3 separate regions of the Homo sapiens genome follow, and regions 2 and 3 are each linked to region 1. The links are contacts of gene promoters, found by promoter capture Hi-C in human tissues and cell types (Jung and others, 2019). All regions are on one chromosome and are shown on one strand. Each heading gives the region's core, a stretch centred on a gene start or on the middle of the fragment in contact. The rest is flanking DNA. Distances are from core to core; before and after follow the strand shown. Region 1 holds the start of COX5A (cytochrome c oxidase subunit 5A). Region 2 holds the start of COMMD4 (COMM domain containing 4). Region 3 overlaps UBL7 (ubiquitin like 7).

What was found. The method cuts DNA at HindIII sites, captures the fragments that hold promoters and counts their contacts. A contact is called where the count stands out against the background at its distance.
Region 2: the fragment with the promoter of COMMD4 here is called in contact with the fragment with the promoter of COX5A in region 1 in 3 of the 25 tissues and cell types used here (dorsolateral prefrontal cortex, hippocampus and lymphoblastoid cells).
Region 3: a contact is called between a fragment that was not itself captured here and the fragment with the promoter of COX5A in region 1, in 1 of the 25 tissues and cell types used here (spleen).

What each region holds. Positions count from the first base shown.
Region 1 is chr15:74,935,861-74,940,276 of GRCh38, forward strand. COX5A (cytochrome c oxidase subunit 5A) reads right to left here and starts at 2,213. Exons shown (of 5, transcript NM_004255.4): 1 at 2,055-2,213. The coding sequence starts at 2,154. RefSeq lists a silencer at 1,907-2,466. The HindIII fragment of the contact is 14,403 bases long and covers 1-4,416 here.
Region 2 is chr15:75,334,492-75,339,272 of GRCh38, forward strand. COMMD4 (COMM domain containing 4) reads left to right here and starts at 1,572. Exons shown (of 8, transcript NM_017828.5): 1 at 1,572-1,601; 2 at 3,571-3,642; 3 at 3,864-3,929; 4 at 4,155-4,194; 5 at 4,494-4,613; 6 at 4,773-4,781. The coding sequence starts at 1,599. RefSeq lists enhancers at 1,406-1,455, 1,796-1,965. The HindIII fragment of the contact is 27,503 bases long and covers 1-4,781 here.
Region 3 is chr15:74,441,465-74,446,619 of GRCh38, forward strand. UBL7 (ubiquitin like 7) reads right to left here. Exons shown (of 11, transcript NM_032907.5): 11 at 4,513-4,763. The coding sequence ends at 4,626. Among named protein-coding and RNA genes, the nearest start is that of SEMA7A, 10 kb to the left of the region's middle. RefSeq lists enhancers at 318-827, 1,340-1,849 and a silencer at 1,194-1,378. The HindIII fragment of the contact is 4,445 bases long and covers 1-3,869 here.

The sequences.
Region 1 (4,416 bases), core at 963-3,462:
ATTACAGGCGTGAGCCACCGTGTCCGGCTGAAAAATGTAAATTGTACTGTTACTTTAGCAAAACACAAAATCTAAACAAACATCAGGATGGCCCAAACATAACTATAAGAAACAAAAATGGTTCCACCATTAAAAAGGAGTCAGTTTCGGCCAGGTGTGGTGTCTCACGCCTGTAATCCCAGCACTTTGGGAGGCTGAGGCAGACGGATCACCTGACCTCACGAGCTCGAAACCAGCATGGCCAACATGGTGAAACCCCATCTCTACTAAAAACACAAAAAGTAGCCGGGCATGGTGGCAGGTGCCTGTAACCCCAGCTACTCCGGAGGCTGAGGCAGGAGAATCGCTTGAGCCAAGACCGTGCTATTGCACTCCAGCCTGGGCAACAAGAACGAAACTCTGTCTCAAGAAAAAACAAAACAAAACAAAACAAAACAAAAACAAACAAACAAACAAAAAAAAACAAGGAGTCAGTTTCCCAAGATGGACTTTGGTTTCCTTTTCTATAAAATAAAATGGCTTCCACGATCTCTAAAGTACACTCTAGGTTGGCTGCAGTGGCTCATGCCTATAATCCCAAACTTTGGGAGGCTGAGGTGGGAGGATCACCTGAGCCCAGGAGTTCAAGCCCAGCCTGGGCAACATAGGGACACTCCGTCTCTAATTTAAAAATAAATAAATAAACAAAAATAAAGTACCCTCCAGCCTTATGGTTCTACGACAAATGATAAAAGTCTAAAATGAATGAAGCAAAACATATTCTTTTTTTTTTTTTTTTTTTTTTGAGACGGAGTCTCGCTCTGTCGGCCAGGCTGGAGTGCAATGGCGCGATTTCGGCTCACTGCAACCTCCGCCTCTCAGGTTCAAGCGATTCTTGTGCTTCAGCCTCCCGAGTAGCTGGGATTACAGGCGCCCACCACCACACCCAGCTAAATTTTTTGTATTTTTAGTACAGACAGGGTTTCACCATGTTGGCCAGGCTGGTCTTGAACTCCTGACCTCAGGTGATCCGCCCGCCTCGGCCTACCAAAGTGCTGGGATTACAGGCATGAGCCACCGCGCCCGGCTGAGTTCTTTTTTTAATTTTTAACTTCAGCATACCCTGAAACGAGTTTCTGAGTTCTTATGTTTAAATACGCATGCATAGTTGCCAGTGATGCAGGTTCAAAAATAAAATATAATATGCATGCATAGAAGCTAAATTTCACGGACCAAGATCGAAGTGCAATTACTGTAATTATTCTATGGTGGTGGACTCAAAACCTCCCAGCACACATATAAAGGGAAGGAAAATAGACAAAAATCAGAAGCACGTCTCATACTCCAGCAATCAGGCTTCTATTACAAAGGGGAAAAAACACGAAGCGTTCCTATGCTTGTAAAACCCAGTATTCCTGTGTCTGTGACATTCAGTTTTCAAAAGAGTGATATTTTTATCATAAGCCCTATCAAAACTCTGGCTATCTTCCGGAGATCAGGAAACAACCACACACTTCCATCTATTTTAAACGTGGAAGAATTAGAACGTGGCACAGCAGACCCTAAAAATGATGGAAAAGGCTGTGAAGGTGACACACTAATCGCTAACCGAGAAATGCCTGATTGAAAAGTATAATCGTGTGTCCCATACGGAAGTATATTGTGTCCTCGGACCCCAAGCGGCGTGCCCGGAGGCTCAATGTCACCTTCGCCGAGGCGCTGCAGGCCGGCGGCGGCCACTCTCGGTCAGGTGGCCGCAGGGTCGGCGCTGGGGCAGGGTCATGGCCCGGGAACCGAAGGGGAGCGCTGCGTCCCCTCCTCGGCGCCCACAGCAGGTCCACATCTGACCTGTCCGCGGTGGCACAGCCAGGAAGTTGCGCGGGGGGAGGCCCCGGGGGCGCGCTTTCAGGTCCTCCACTACTCGAGGCGGCGGGCAGGGCGGCCCGCGGTCACCGGGTTCAGTAACCAGGGTAGGGCAAGGGCTAGGCCGGGGAGAGCCCGCCCCGGAGTGGCAGCGGGGACCCAGGTCACCGCAAGGACACGAGGGCGCGGGCAGTGGCAAGCAGGGGCCTTACCCACGGCGGGGCCGGGGGTCCGGGCGGAGTGCAGGAGGCCTCGAGGGTCGGCCCGGGTGGTTGCGGCCACAGCGCAGCGGCGGAGAGCGGCGCCCAGCATGACGGCGATGGCGGCGCGCGGGCTGAGGACAGAGAGAAGCCGGTGTAAGCTCGCGGGTTGCTCCGGAGCGGGCGGGGGCCGGACAGGCTCACAGCGGGCGGAGCACGTAGGCCCGCCCACTGCGACTCTGGCGCGTGGGCGGGAGGAGCCACCGCGCGGCCGGCGGCGGCGGGGGCTACGGCGGCGCGCTGAGGACAAACTGTTAGCCTCGCGTCCCGCCTTGTCTCTGGTCAGGTGACGTGCAGCTGCCATCCTGTAAGTAGGAATGGAGGCGAGGGAGGAGCAACCGACCGTGATCTTGTTCGAGTCAGGCCCAGGAGGGCACTTAATCACCTCAAAATAGGAATGACAGCAATAACAACAAACTATAATAAAAAATACGTACTTTGCGCCCGGGCGCTGTGGCTCATGCCTGTAATCCCAGCACTTTTGGGAGGCCGAGGCGGGCGGATCACCTGCGGTCGGGAGTTCAAGACCAGCCTGGGCAACATGGAGGAACCCCCGTCTCTACTAAAAATACAAAATTAGCCAGGCGTGGTGGCGCAACGCATGCCCGCAATCCCAGCTACTCGGGAGGCTGAGGCAGGAGAATCGCTTGAACCCAGGAGGAGGAGGTTGCGGTGAGCCGAGATGGTGCCATTGCACTCCAGCCTGGGCAACAAGAGCGAAACTCCGTCTCAAAAAAACCAAACAAAACAAAAACCTACTTTGCTTAGCCCCGCCTTCTCATTGTGGCATAAAATAAAACAGCGAATGGGGGAAAGAATGCCGCTGGACGCGGTTGCTCACGCCTGTAATCCTAGCACTTTGGGAGCCCAAGGCGGGCGGATCACCTGAGGTCGGGAGTTCGAGACCAGCCTGACCAACATGGAGAAACCCCTGTCTCTACTAAAAATGCAAAATTAGCCAGGTGTGGTGGCGCATGCCTGTAATCCCAGCTATTTGGGAGGCTGAGGCAGGAGAATTGCTGGAACCCAGGAGGCAGAGGTTGCAGTGAGTTGAGATCGCACCATTGCACTCCAGCCTGGGCAACAAGATCAAAACTCCATCTCAAAAAAAAAAAAGGCCTATGCGTAAGGGATTTTATTAGTACATATTCTTATATCACAAACCAGCTTGCATAAAAAATGAGTTAAACTACTTCATTTCACAGATTAGGAAAGAGGCTCAGAAATTAGGTTGCTGCTGGCAGTCAAGGATCTTTTCGCCACATCCCCAGTTCTGAGGACTCTCACCTGAATGTTTCCCATCTCCTACAGGAGGGCTCCTGAATCCACGATGGCTCTGAAATAGGGTTGATCAAGTTCCACAGTTGTTGCATCTTATCTCACTAGCTACATCCTAACTTTGAGCCCCTGGGCAGTCAAGGACACCTCTCCCAGGCCTGAAGTATCTGGATGCTGCCCAGAGTTAATGAGACATTGTATTCTGTCTTGCTGTCTCCCATTCTCTATCCCTGGGCACACTGAGGAAAGAAAAGGTGGCCATTCATGTGCCACTTCCTCACTTCAGGCCGACTCTCCAGGGCCTCAGCATCTGCCCTTCTCTTTTTCCTCCCTAGCAGTGTGGCTTCAGTGGGTAGGAACCTGGCGGGGAAAAGGATTTTTAAAATGTTTTCAAAGCACCTGCCCTCACCGTTTCCCACCAACCTAGTGCTGGGGCTTAGAAAACAATACCACAAAGTGAAGGCCTATGAAGCAGTTTCTCTCTGACCTTCTGCCCTCTTGTCTCTTGCCCCTTACTCTCCCTCCAGGCATGCCACAGAAACTAGAATCCCTCCTCCCCAAGAGGGGGTCTAGAAAGTAGAACCCCTTTGTCCCAAAGCCAGCCATAAAGCCTAAAAATATTGCTCTAACCTTTCTCTTTGCCTTTCTATGTAACAGCTGGCCATAAAGAAATTAAGGCCGAGCACGGTGGTTCACGCCTGTAATCCTAGCACTTTGAGCCGCCAAGGCCAGGAGATCACTTGAGGTCAGGAGTTTGAGACCAGCCTGGCCAACATGGTGAAACCCCATCTCTATTAAAATTACTAACATTAGCCAGAAATCACTTGAACCCAGGAGGTGGAGGTTGCGGTGAGGCGAGATCACACCACTGCACTCCAGCCTGGGTGACAGAGCTAGACTCCGTCTCAAAAATAAAATTTTTTAAAAAAAAGGAGAAAAGGAAACATGGCCAGGTATGGTGGCTCATGCCTGTAATCCCAGCACTTTGGGAGGCTGAGGTGGGAAGATCACCTGAGGTCGGGAGTTCGAGACCATC
Region 2 (4,781 bases), core at 322-2,821, 400 kb after region 1:
CAAAGTGCTATGATTAAAGGTCTTAACATTCTTAAAAAATTTTTTTGACATGGTTTAGGATAGTCTAGTAACTTAACGTACTGTTGTTTTCAACAGGCTAGTGGTTATGATTTGTAAAAGAACTCTTCAGAAATGAGCTCAATTTTACCATGAATTGGGGACACTTTACATTTCTATTTTATAGTGCAGTTTAATTGTCATGGGCTCTGTCTTTTAAAAACCTGAAAGCCTGCAACAATAAAACCAGCTGCACCTGTTGCATGGGATAGGCATGGAATTGAGGAGAGAGCTCAAACTACAGTCAGCCCTCTGTATCCTGAGGTTCTGGATCCTTGGATTTAACCAACTGTGCATCGAAAATATTTGGAAAAAGTAAAACAATAAAAAAACACAGGTCGGGTGCAGTGGCGGGCGCCTGTAGTCCCAGCTACTCGGGAGGCTGAGGCAGGAGAATGGCGTGAACCCGGGTGGCAGAGCTGGCAGCGAGTGGAGATCGCGCCACTGCACTCCAGCCTGGGCAACAGAGCAAGACTCCGTCTCAAAAAAAAAAATTAAAAAACTTTATAACAGCTATTTACAAAGCATTTACGTTGTATTAGGTATTATAGTAATCTAGAGATGATTTAAAGTATACGGAAGGATGTGCACAGGTTATTTGCAAATACTATGCCATATTATATCAGGGACTTGAGTATCTGTGAATTTTGGTATCTCTGGGGTCCTGGAACCAACATCCTGAGGTTACCAAAGGACGACTGTATTCAATTTTGTCTCTGGTTATTAGTCTATTCTCAAATGTATTTTTCTTGTTGTTTTGTCTTTTTGTTTTTGCCTCTTCAAGTCAATGTCGGAAACTTAGTTGTTCTAGACTACCCATTAGCTCAGAGCTACCAGTAATCAGACTACCACTGCAACCTAAGCAACCGATTTTTCTTCCCCATCAGACTGGCAAAAATTAAGATAAGCATCTATTGATGTTGAAGCTGTAGGGAGTTTTCCTGAGCAAGTAATTATGACAGCCCTTTTTGCTAGGCACCTAGATGATTCATCAAAATGAAATAAAATACCCATGCACTTGAAGAAGTTATCTGGTTTATTTCCTTACCTGGGTGCTGGTTATGTGAGGTGTACAGTTGATGAAAACTTATTAAGCTTTATAATAGGTACAATTTTCTGTATGTGTAGTAGACGTCAATAGTTTTTAAAATGTCTTTTGCCACAGCCCGCAGCTGTGAATAATGCTATTCGCTTAACAGTGGAAAACGTGTCAATGACCTGAAACACCCTGGCTCCCGGGATCCTACCCCCTTAAGTTAAACAAATGAAATAACTTCCACTGTCTTTCCTAATGTCTTAATTCGGTCCTCAGTTAAACTGGCGGTTGGCGCCAGTTTTTTCCAGGGAAGGATTCTGGGAGACGGAGGAGGAGACGCCAGCATTTCGCCCCCTGCACCTCCAGCGGGCTGCGGTCCGCTCCCGGCCTCACTCGAGCAGGCCCCGCCCTCCCAGAGGCAGTTAGTCCAAGTCACGTGATCGTCGACTCAGCTGACCCTGCGGGACCGGAAAAAGAAATTCCCGGGCCCTGGCTTCTTGGCGCGATGGTGAGGCACTAGGGGCGAAGCGAGGCTTGGGCTGCTGGAGCGGGAATGAGGGGGCGCCAAGTGGCTCCGGAAACTGGGGGAGGTTGTACTGGCCTCTCCGCAAACACAGTGTGTGCGGGCGTGAGGGCTGTGAGTCTGGTAGGGAAAAGTCCACCACTCTCCCGCTCCCGAGACGGGGGCGGGGGTACGGGGCGGGTAAGACAGAGCAGGCCGGCCGGCTTAGAGTCCCGGTGCTTCCCTGGCGGAAGGAAGGGCCCCTGCCTCCCGGGGCAGGAACTAGGGCTTGTCTGGAGCTGGGAGTCCTTTCAGGTCTTCCCCATCCCCAAGAGGACCTCCCAAGGATACCCCCTTCCCCAGCCCTGCCGTGGGGCTTGTACAAGAAGGTGCTTAGAATCAGGCTCACTCTTCCACACTGTTAGGAAGCCCCTCCGCTCTTTCCAGAGCCAGAAAGTAGTAGTTTTGGGGTTGAGACTTATCCATCCATCCATCCAATCCATCCATCCGTACGTTCTAAGCGCCTGGTCTATACCATGAAGTGTGCTAGGCACTGGGAGGACTTGAGCTGCCAAGGGAAGGGGAAATCGGAGGCTTGAATTGGAGTCATAGCTAAGGCTCCAGGGGCAGAGACCTAACTGCGCCTTGTGTGTAGTGCTAAGGGGGCTTCCTAAGGATGCCATCAAACTTAAAGGCGGATGGATGGCAGGAGCTGGCTGGCTGAAGTACAGTTTGTGTACCAGGGGTAGGGAGGCAAGGGTGGGAGACGTGTGTCTTCAGACAGGGAACAGCATGTGCAGAGACTTCAGGTTAGAGAGAGTATGGCTCCCCAGGAATGGATGCATTTCCCATAGCTGGGAGAGTATCATCTGCAGGTTAGGGAAAGATGAGGCTGGACAAGTAGAGAACAAATCTTCCTGGCTCTTGGATCACCACAATCAAGATAATGAACGTATCCACTGGCCTCCATAATTTCCTTGTGTGAGGGGCTATTTTAAGAAGTATAATCAAGAAAGGCTGTTCTGGCTGGGTGCGGTGGCTCATGCCTGTAATCCTAGCACTTTGGGAGAGTGAAGAGGGTGGATCACCTGAGGTCAGGAGTTCGAGACCAGCATGGCCATGGCACTCCAGCCTGGGCAACAGAGGGAGACTCTGTCTTATTTTTTTATTTTTTAAAAAAAGAAGGGCTGGTCTGATGTGTCACTTAAAGGATAGCAAGCCACTGGCCAGGCGCCGTGGCTCACGCCTGTAATCCCAGCACTTTGGGAGGCTGAGGGGGACGGATCACTTGAGGTCAGGAGTTCAAGACCAGCCTGGCTAACATAGTGAAACTCTGTCTCTACTAAAAATACAAAATTAGCCGAGTGTGGTGGCACATGCCTGTAATCCCAGCTACTTGGGAGGCTGAGGCAGGAGAATCACTTGAACCTGGGAAGCGGAGGTTGCAGTGAGCCGAGGTCGCGCCATTGCACTCCAGCCTGGGGAACAAGAGTGAAACTGTCTCAAAAAAAAAAAAAAAAGGATAGCAAGCCACACAGAGAGTGCAGCAGGCATGGAGGCGGGAGCAAGGCTGGTGTGCCCCAGCAGCAGCAGGGAAGCTGGAGTGGCTGGAGTTGTGTGGGTATGGGGAAGAGGGGAGAGAGTTCACTCGTCTCTGTGAGGCCCAGGACTTTGTTTTATCCCATGCTGTACCCCCAGCACTTAGAGTGGGAGCTAGCACAGAGAAGGTGCTTAATTGATGTTTGCTGAGCAGATGAATGCCTGGAGTAGACCTCAGAGCAGGGTTTGGTGGCAGGGTGGGTCAGGGAGAGAGTTTACTCAACAGCCTGGTGATAGGGGAGAACAAGAGGCCAGAGGGTATCCATCTATGTCGGGGACCAGGGGTCCCTGGTGGGCAGCAGTGTGGGAGACACACGGATCCTGGCCACACCTCAGGCCTCCCTCCAGCCTGATTACCTGCCTCCCTCCCTTGCAGAGGTTCCGGTTCTGTGGTGATCTGGACTGTCCCGACTGGGTCCTGGCAGAAATCAGCACGCTGGCCAAGATGGTTGAGTGCACAGGGTCTAGTCTGGGTGGAGGAGGGGTGTTGGGGGTGGGGATTGTGGGTGTAGAGGATGGTGAGGTTTCTCTGGGGCTAGGGCCTCAGTGCTCTCAGCCTGTGCTACCATGCTTTGTGACCTTGATCAGTGGCTGGCCTGCTCTGAGCCAGTCCCCAGGAAGGAGGGGTGAGGTTTGCCAGCCTGGCTGATGTAAGGACTTCCCTTCCAGTCCTCTGTGAAGTTGCGGCTGCTCTGCAGCCAGGTACTAAAGGAGCTGCTGGGACAGGGGATTGATGTGAGTACAAGATCCAGCACCCCATTGTCCCATGACCTTATGACCACCACTGCCCTGAAACTCTGCACTAGGCCCAGGGAGACGGGTGAGCCAGCCTCTCAACCTCTCTGGGCACCTCCCTTCCTTCTTTCCAGCCTGTCTGTTCCTTATCGCAGGATCCAGGCTGGGGGTGAGGGGCTGGTGAGCAGGGGCCTGGCACCCCCTGAAGGTCTCCTTTCCCCATAGTATGAGAAGATCCTGAAGCTCACGGCTGACGCCAAGTTTGGTGAGTATCCCGCTGAGTCTATAGGCCCCAGGCAACCCTGGGAACTTGGCCTGGTGCCTGGTACAGAGGGGCCCCCCACCCCTCCCAGCAGCATCCTTAACTTACCTTCCCTAGTGGAGGAGCATGAGGGAAAGAAAGACCGACAGTCCCACCTTCCTGTCCTCTGCCAGCTCCTGGTGGAGCAGTAGCAGTGCCTGTGGCTCCAGGAGGCCTGGGGGCTTTGAGCTAAAGTTAATAGGGCAACAGGGAGGTGGCTGGACCCACAGTGACACCCCCTGCCCCACCCACGGGTCCCTCAGAGTCAGGCGATGTGAAGGCCACAGTGGCAGTGCTGAGTTTCATCCTCTCCAGTGCGGCCAAGCACAGTGTCGATGGCGAATCCTTGTCCAGTGAACTGCAGCAGCTGGGGCTGCCCAAAGGTACGGGTTGTGGGTGGGCAGCTGGGCAGCCTGTGGGCCAAGGGCTGCTAGAGAAGGGGACAGGCCCTGTGACCCTGAGGTGTACCTGCCCTGTCTGGGCCAGGAGCCCAAGCCAGGCCCCGACATGCTACCTCCAGAGCTACTCCATTCTACCCCCAGAGCACGCGG
Region 3 (5,155 bases), core at 397-2,896, 490 kb before region 1:
GTGTAATGTACTATTAATATTAGCTAGTTTTGCCAAGATAGAGTAGGCCAGTGCCTGGGTTGCCACGAAAGCATTTCTAGCATAGAAGTTGAATTCTATTCCCAGCGATCTCAGAGCCTATGAGAACGAGACAGGCCCAGGCCCAGAGGAACTAGGGGCACAGCTGAACTGACCTGAGCCCAGCCCAGGGCCAGAGGGGACCCCACCTGCTGGAGAGGCTGGGTAAGCAGAAAGAGGGAGGCCTGAATAAACTCCCCAACATCCTCAACAAACACCCAGGGCCAAAGTCTGTGGCAACAGCAACAAGAAGCCACCTCAGGGTAGGGCTCTGTGAGCTTGGTCTGGGGCCCAGGCCAGATGGGACTGAGGCGAGGAGCAGATCTGGGGCCCATGTGCCCAGCAAGCTGTGCCAGCCCAGCCCATACCAGCCCAGCCAAATTTGAGTTATATCAGGAGAACGGATCTGTTAGAAAACTCACCCATCTCTACATATTTGCATATTCTATTTTGGGGTCTTTTCCTTTTTTTCCCTCAGCTTCCTAGAAAAGTTCTTGTGATCACTTCCAACTTCACCTCTGCTGAACTGCAAAAACTCACACTCAATCCCATCTCTCCTCTAACTACTATCCTCTCCCTCACAAGCAAGGTCCCCTGCCCTCTCTGCATCCACTGCCCCTCACCTATTCAGTCCTCAACCCCTGCTATCTGGCTCCGGTTCCATTGGAATGTCTCCCCAAGGTCACCAAGGCACAAGTCAACAAGTCCAAGGTCAGCCCTTCTGTTACTAGGTTTGTCTGTGGCATCTGACCCCACTGAGCATGCCCTCTTTGTCCAGGTCCTTTCACTCCCTCAGCTTTGCTGACTCCTGCTCTCACCTTCCCAGAAGCAGCAGATCCTGCGCCCGTTCCATGCCTCACATCTATCAGTCACCATTTTCTATAAAGCTGAACTCCTTAGTGGGTATCCCTTTTCCTCTACCTTTCTCTGAAAAGCTTAATTGCCTTCTCACATGACACAGGCCCAGTGTTCAACTTAGAACTTCCTGATCACTACCTCAGCCCAAAGACATCCAACTGTCTTTAATTATACACATCCCCACCTGGCTGTCCTATGGCACCTCATTCCAAATTGTCACCCCAGTCCCTTATTCTTACTGCTGCACCACCATCCGCCTGCTCACATCCTGCCTGCCTCCCCACTTTCAGCCCCCAGAGCTAGTCTGTCCTTCACACCTAGCAGCTCCCCTCCACCCAGCTCCCCTGCAGCAGCTCCAGTTGAGGCCCCCTCCATGTCCCATCTGGAGGATCCAGCCAGCCTCCTAGCTGGTCGCCTACCCCATCTCACTTCCCACAAATCCAGCCTCCACACAGCTGTCAGATTATCTCACACACAGATCTGGTCCCCCACTGCCCTGCCTGCAGCTGCCTCAGGGGTGCTCTTTGCCCTCAGGATAAAGCCCTAGCTCCTCAGCCGGATCTAAGCCCTCATCATCTCCCATTCCTCCACACTTCAGAGGCCAAGGGCAGTGGGAGGAAGGGCACCAGCTCTGGAGTAAGACAGACCTGAGTTTCTGGGACCACTTGTCCACTTCCTGCCCATGAGACTGTGGGCAGATGATTTCAACCCTTGGAACCTTGGTGTCCCCATCTGTTCAGTGGAGACAACAGTATACTCGCCTTTCCCAAAGATCTGGTATCAATTCTAACTCCTAAAGCCTCTCTACCTCCTCCTCTCCTTCCCCACTGCCACGCCGTCAGGTCAGCCTACCAGCAGCTCTAAGTGGATCACTGCCACAGCCTCCTCCCCGGCTTCCTCATGCCTGCCCTCCCTCAGTCTTCTACTCCCACTATACTCACCACACAGCAGCCAGAATGACCTTTCTAAAACACACATTGGACTCTCTCCCGATTGCCATTCTGTGACTCCCATTGTCCAGGGTAAGTCTAAATTCCTTACATAGCTTCAAATGATCTAGCCTCTGCCCACCCACTTGCCTTGCAAGCCACCCTGACAAACAGGGCTACAAAAGCCAGGTTTGCTCCCCACTCCCAGCCCCCTCAGTACATATACCTTCGTGCCCAATTCTCCCTTACCCTTCAGGTCTCAGCGTAGTGCCACTTTCTCCATGAAGCTTTCCCTCACCCTCACACCCCCACCCCTAGCCCACGTTAGCCCCCTCTCCTGTGAGCGCCACAGCCCCTAGACTTGCCTCGCCCAGTTCTCATTAGGCTTTAATGCAATCATCTGTTTGTCCATCTTACCAACAACACAGCATTGTCAGAGCAAAGATACCGTCATGTTTATCTGGCAGAGAGTGGAGGCTCAGTCAATGTTTGTTGAAAGGATGAAAGGAGGCCCGGCGCGGTGGCTCATGCCTGTAATCTCAACACTTTAGGGGACCAAGACAGGTGGATCATTTGAGGTCAGGAGTTTGAAACCAGCCTGGCCAACACGGCGAAACCTCATCTCTACTAAAAATACATAAATTAGCTGGCTATGGTGGCACATGCCTGTAGTCGCAGCTACTTGGGAAGCTGAGGCAGGAGCCCAGGAGGTGGAGGTTGCAGTGAGCTGAAATCGTGCCACTGCACCCCAGCCTGGGCGACAGAGCGAGACTCTGTCTCAAAAAAAATAAATTTTTTTAAAAAAAATAATAAAAATAAGAAGAAAGGATGAAAGGGACAATGGTGAGGAAAGAGTCCTTGGCTCATGGAAAGCCCCAGGCTCAGTGGGGGCACTTATCAGACTCAACATAGACTACTCAAAACATGGCCACAGGAAGCAAAGCCAACTTGCCAAGCCCCTGGAGGAAAGAGCCAACAAAGAAGGGAAAGGGAAACCGTGGGGACGGCTCTGTTCTGGGAACTGGTATTGGGGGTTGGTCCAAGGGATAGGGCAGGGTGACCCAAATGTTCTGCAGCATAATGGGATAGGGGAGTTAAGGAACCCCAGCACCTTTGAAGGCAGTCCTCAGAGGCAGGGTGAGAGCTGCCACAGAATGGAAACGAGCTCTGGGCAGGCTGTATCATGGGCACAGGAAGGGCTGTGTCAGCCCCATTTGACCAAGACAGACCCATGAGGATAGGACTGGCCTTTGTTTCCACCACAAACAAGCAAGAGACACTGTGTACAAAGACAGAGCTTCCTGGTCTTTGCTCTCAACCACAAGTAGGCAGCTGGGCTCCAGGCAGACCACTGAGGCACACAGAGGCCTGGCATTGAGAAGCCCAGTTCTGAGTCTTTTCTGTCAATGCACATAGAGAGACTTCTCAAATTTTCTGGAAGAGGCAAAGAATAACATCCTGTTCGGGCCATATCTGGACGTTAAGAGTATCACTGATACACTGGAGGTCATCCAGAAAAACGAACAGGATATGCTGGGAACCAAAACCATGACAGGTCAAAGGGGCAAGTCAATGACCCACCATGGCATTCCGTAAATAACTAAAGCCCTGCTAAGGTAGAAGAGGAAGCAGGCTTGTTCCGAGTGGTTCCTTAGGGCAGAGAGGGGACCAAGGGGTAATGCCCTGGCAAATAGTTAAAGGACAGAATAGGTTGTAAGTGGTAAATCTTTTGTTCCTGGAGGAGACAAGCAGAAACCAAATGACCATGACTGGGAATGGTGGAGATGAAACGCCTGCCAAGGCAGAGGGCAGGAGCACATCTCTGAGCCCCTTTCCACCCATGTTATTCCCAAATGAACCAAAACACCATCTGAGGGGAAGAAGTGTTCTCCCAACGAAGTATTCAAAGCATTTAAAACCCACTTTCTCAACTTGGACATGTCTGCGATGCCGCAGGGAACATCACAGGGAACGCCATGCCAAGGGGAACATGAGTGAGCACAGGCAGATGGAGCAACAGCTTGGGGGTTGGTGCCCTCTCTTCAATATTAAAGCTGAGCCCTGTTCATGTTGGTGTTGTTTTTTAGTATTGCTATTTAACTGCTCTTGTATTTATGCCTTCAGGACAAGGAGGGCCCTACCTCCTGGCGAAGCTCTGAGGCCTGGATTCTGGAATCATTACAGAACAAGCATCAAAAAATGCTTGGTGAGAATAGACTGGTGGGGTGGACAAAGAAATCTGTGGAAGCCATTGAGAGAGAGAGAAATGTGGAAGGCAAGCTGCCTCCATGTGCTTCCCCTGAAAGTCCACCCAGCCACTCCATAGACTGGACATCTCGGAAGCATAAGCCTCTTCTGGGCACAGCTGTAATCCAGCAGCCACCCTGAAGATTGGGTGATAGCTCTGCCTAGACTTCGGCACATCCTGAGGCTCCCAAACTCCAAAGCCCCAGAGAGTCTGGGGGCTACGGCTGGAAACTTCTCCCAGAAGTTAACATGGGTATCTCACAGCATCCCATGATGTAGGGTCTAACATCCTCCATCCAGGGCCCAGAACTAGGGGCCAGCCCTGCTTTGATGCCACAGCATCAAGACCAGCACACCTTGTTTGCCCCACTGCCTCCACCAACTCAGATCAGCCAGAAAGGTCAAGAACTGGACAAAGCAGGAGAGTTGACCATCAGGTATATTGGGGAAGGGAGAGATGGAGGCACCTTCATGAGTGCCTCCCAAGGGCAGTAGCCTCTGCAACTTGCTGGGGGTTCAGGGGAAGCAGGGAGTTCATGGGGCTCCTCCAGCAAAGATGAGCTCCAGGGCTGCTTGGATGTCCCCACCGGTGGCCTGCAGGGCCCGCAGGCTCAGCTCATCGTCCTGGATGCCCATGTCACGTAGCTGCTGCAGCTGGGGCTGCCACTGGCTCTGTGGAAAGATAGGAATGGGCAGAAGCTGTTAGCTGGGATCCAGTGAAGACTCACTTAGGTCTGTGCTTTCCGGGGAAGGAAAGGAAGATGGGGGAGTCCTCAGCAAAGCTGCTGATGCTGAGTTCCACAGAACACGGTGCTTCTAGGAAGACTAAAAGATAGGCTTGAGGGTTAAGAGAACAAATCCAAAGTTTTACAATAAAAAAAGGAAATTCTTGGCATAAGGATCAAAAGAGAATGTACAAATTATTCACTGTCTGAATTCCAAGAGGCTAAATTACTTTCTTTCTCTTGCTATGTGTACACACACAACAGCAAGATTTTGCTCTTTATGTGATGAGTGTTACAGATTTTTTTCCCAGTTTGTTAGCCTTTGGACTTTGCTTCGGT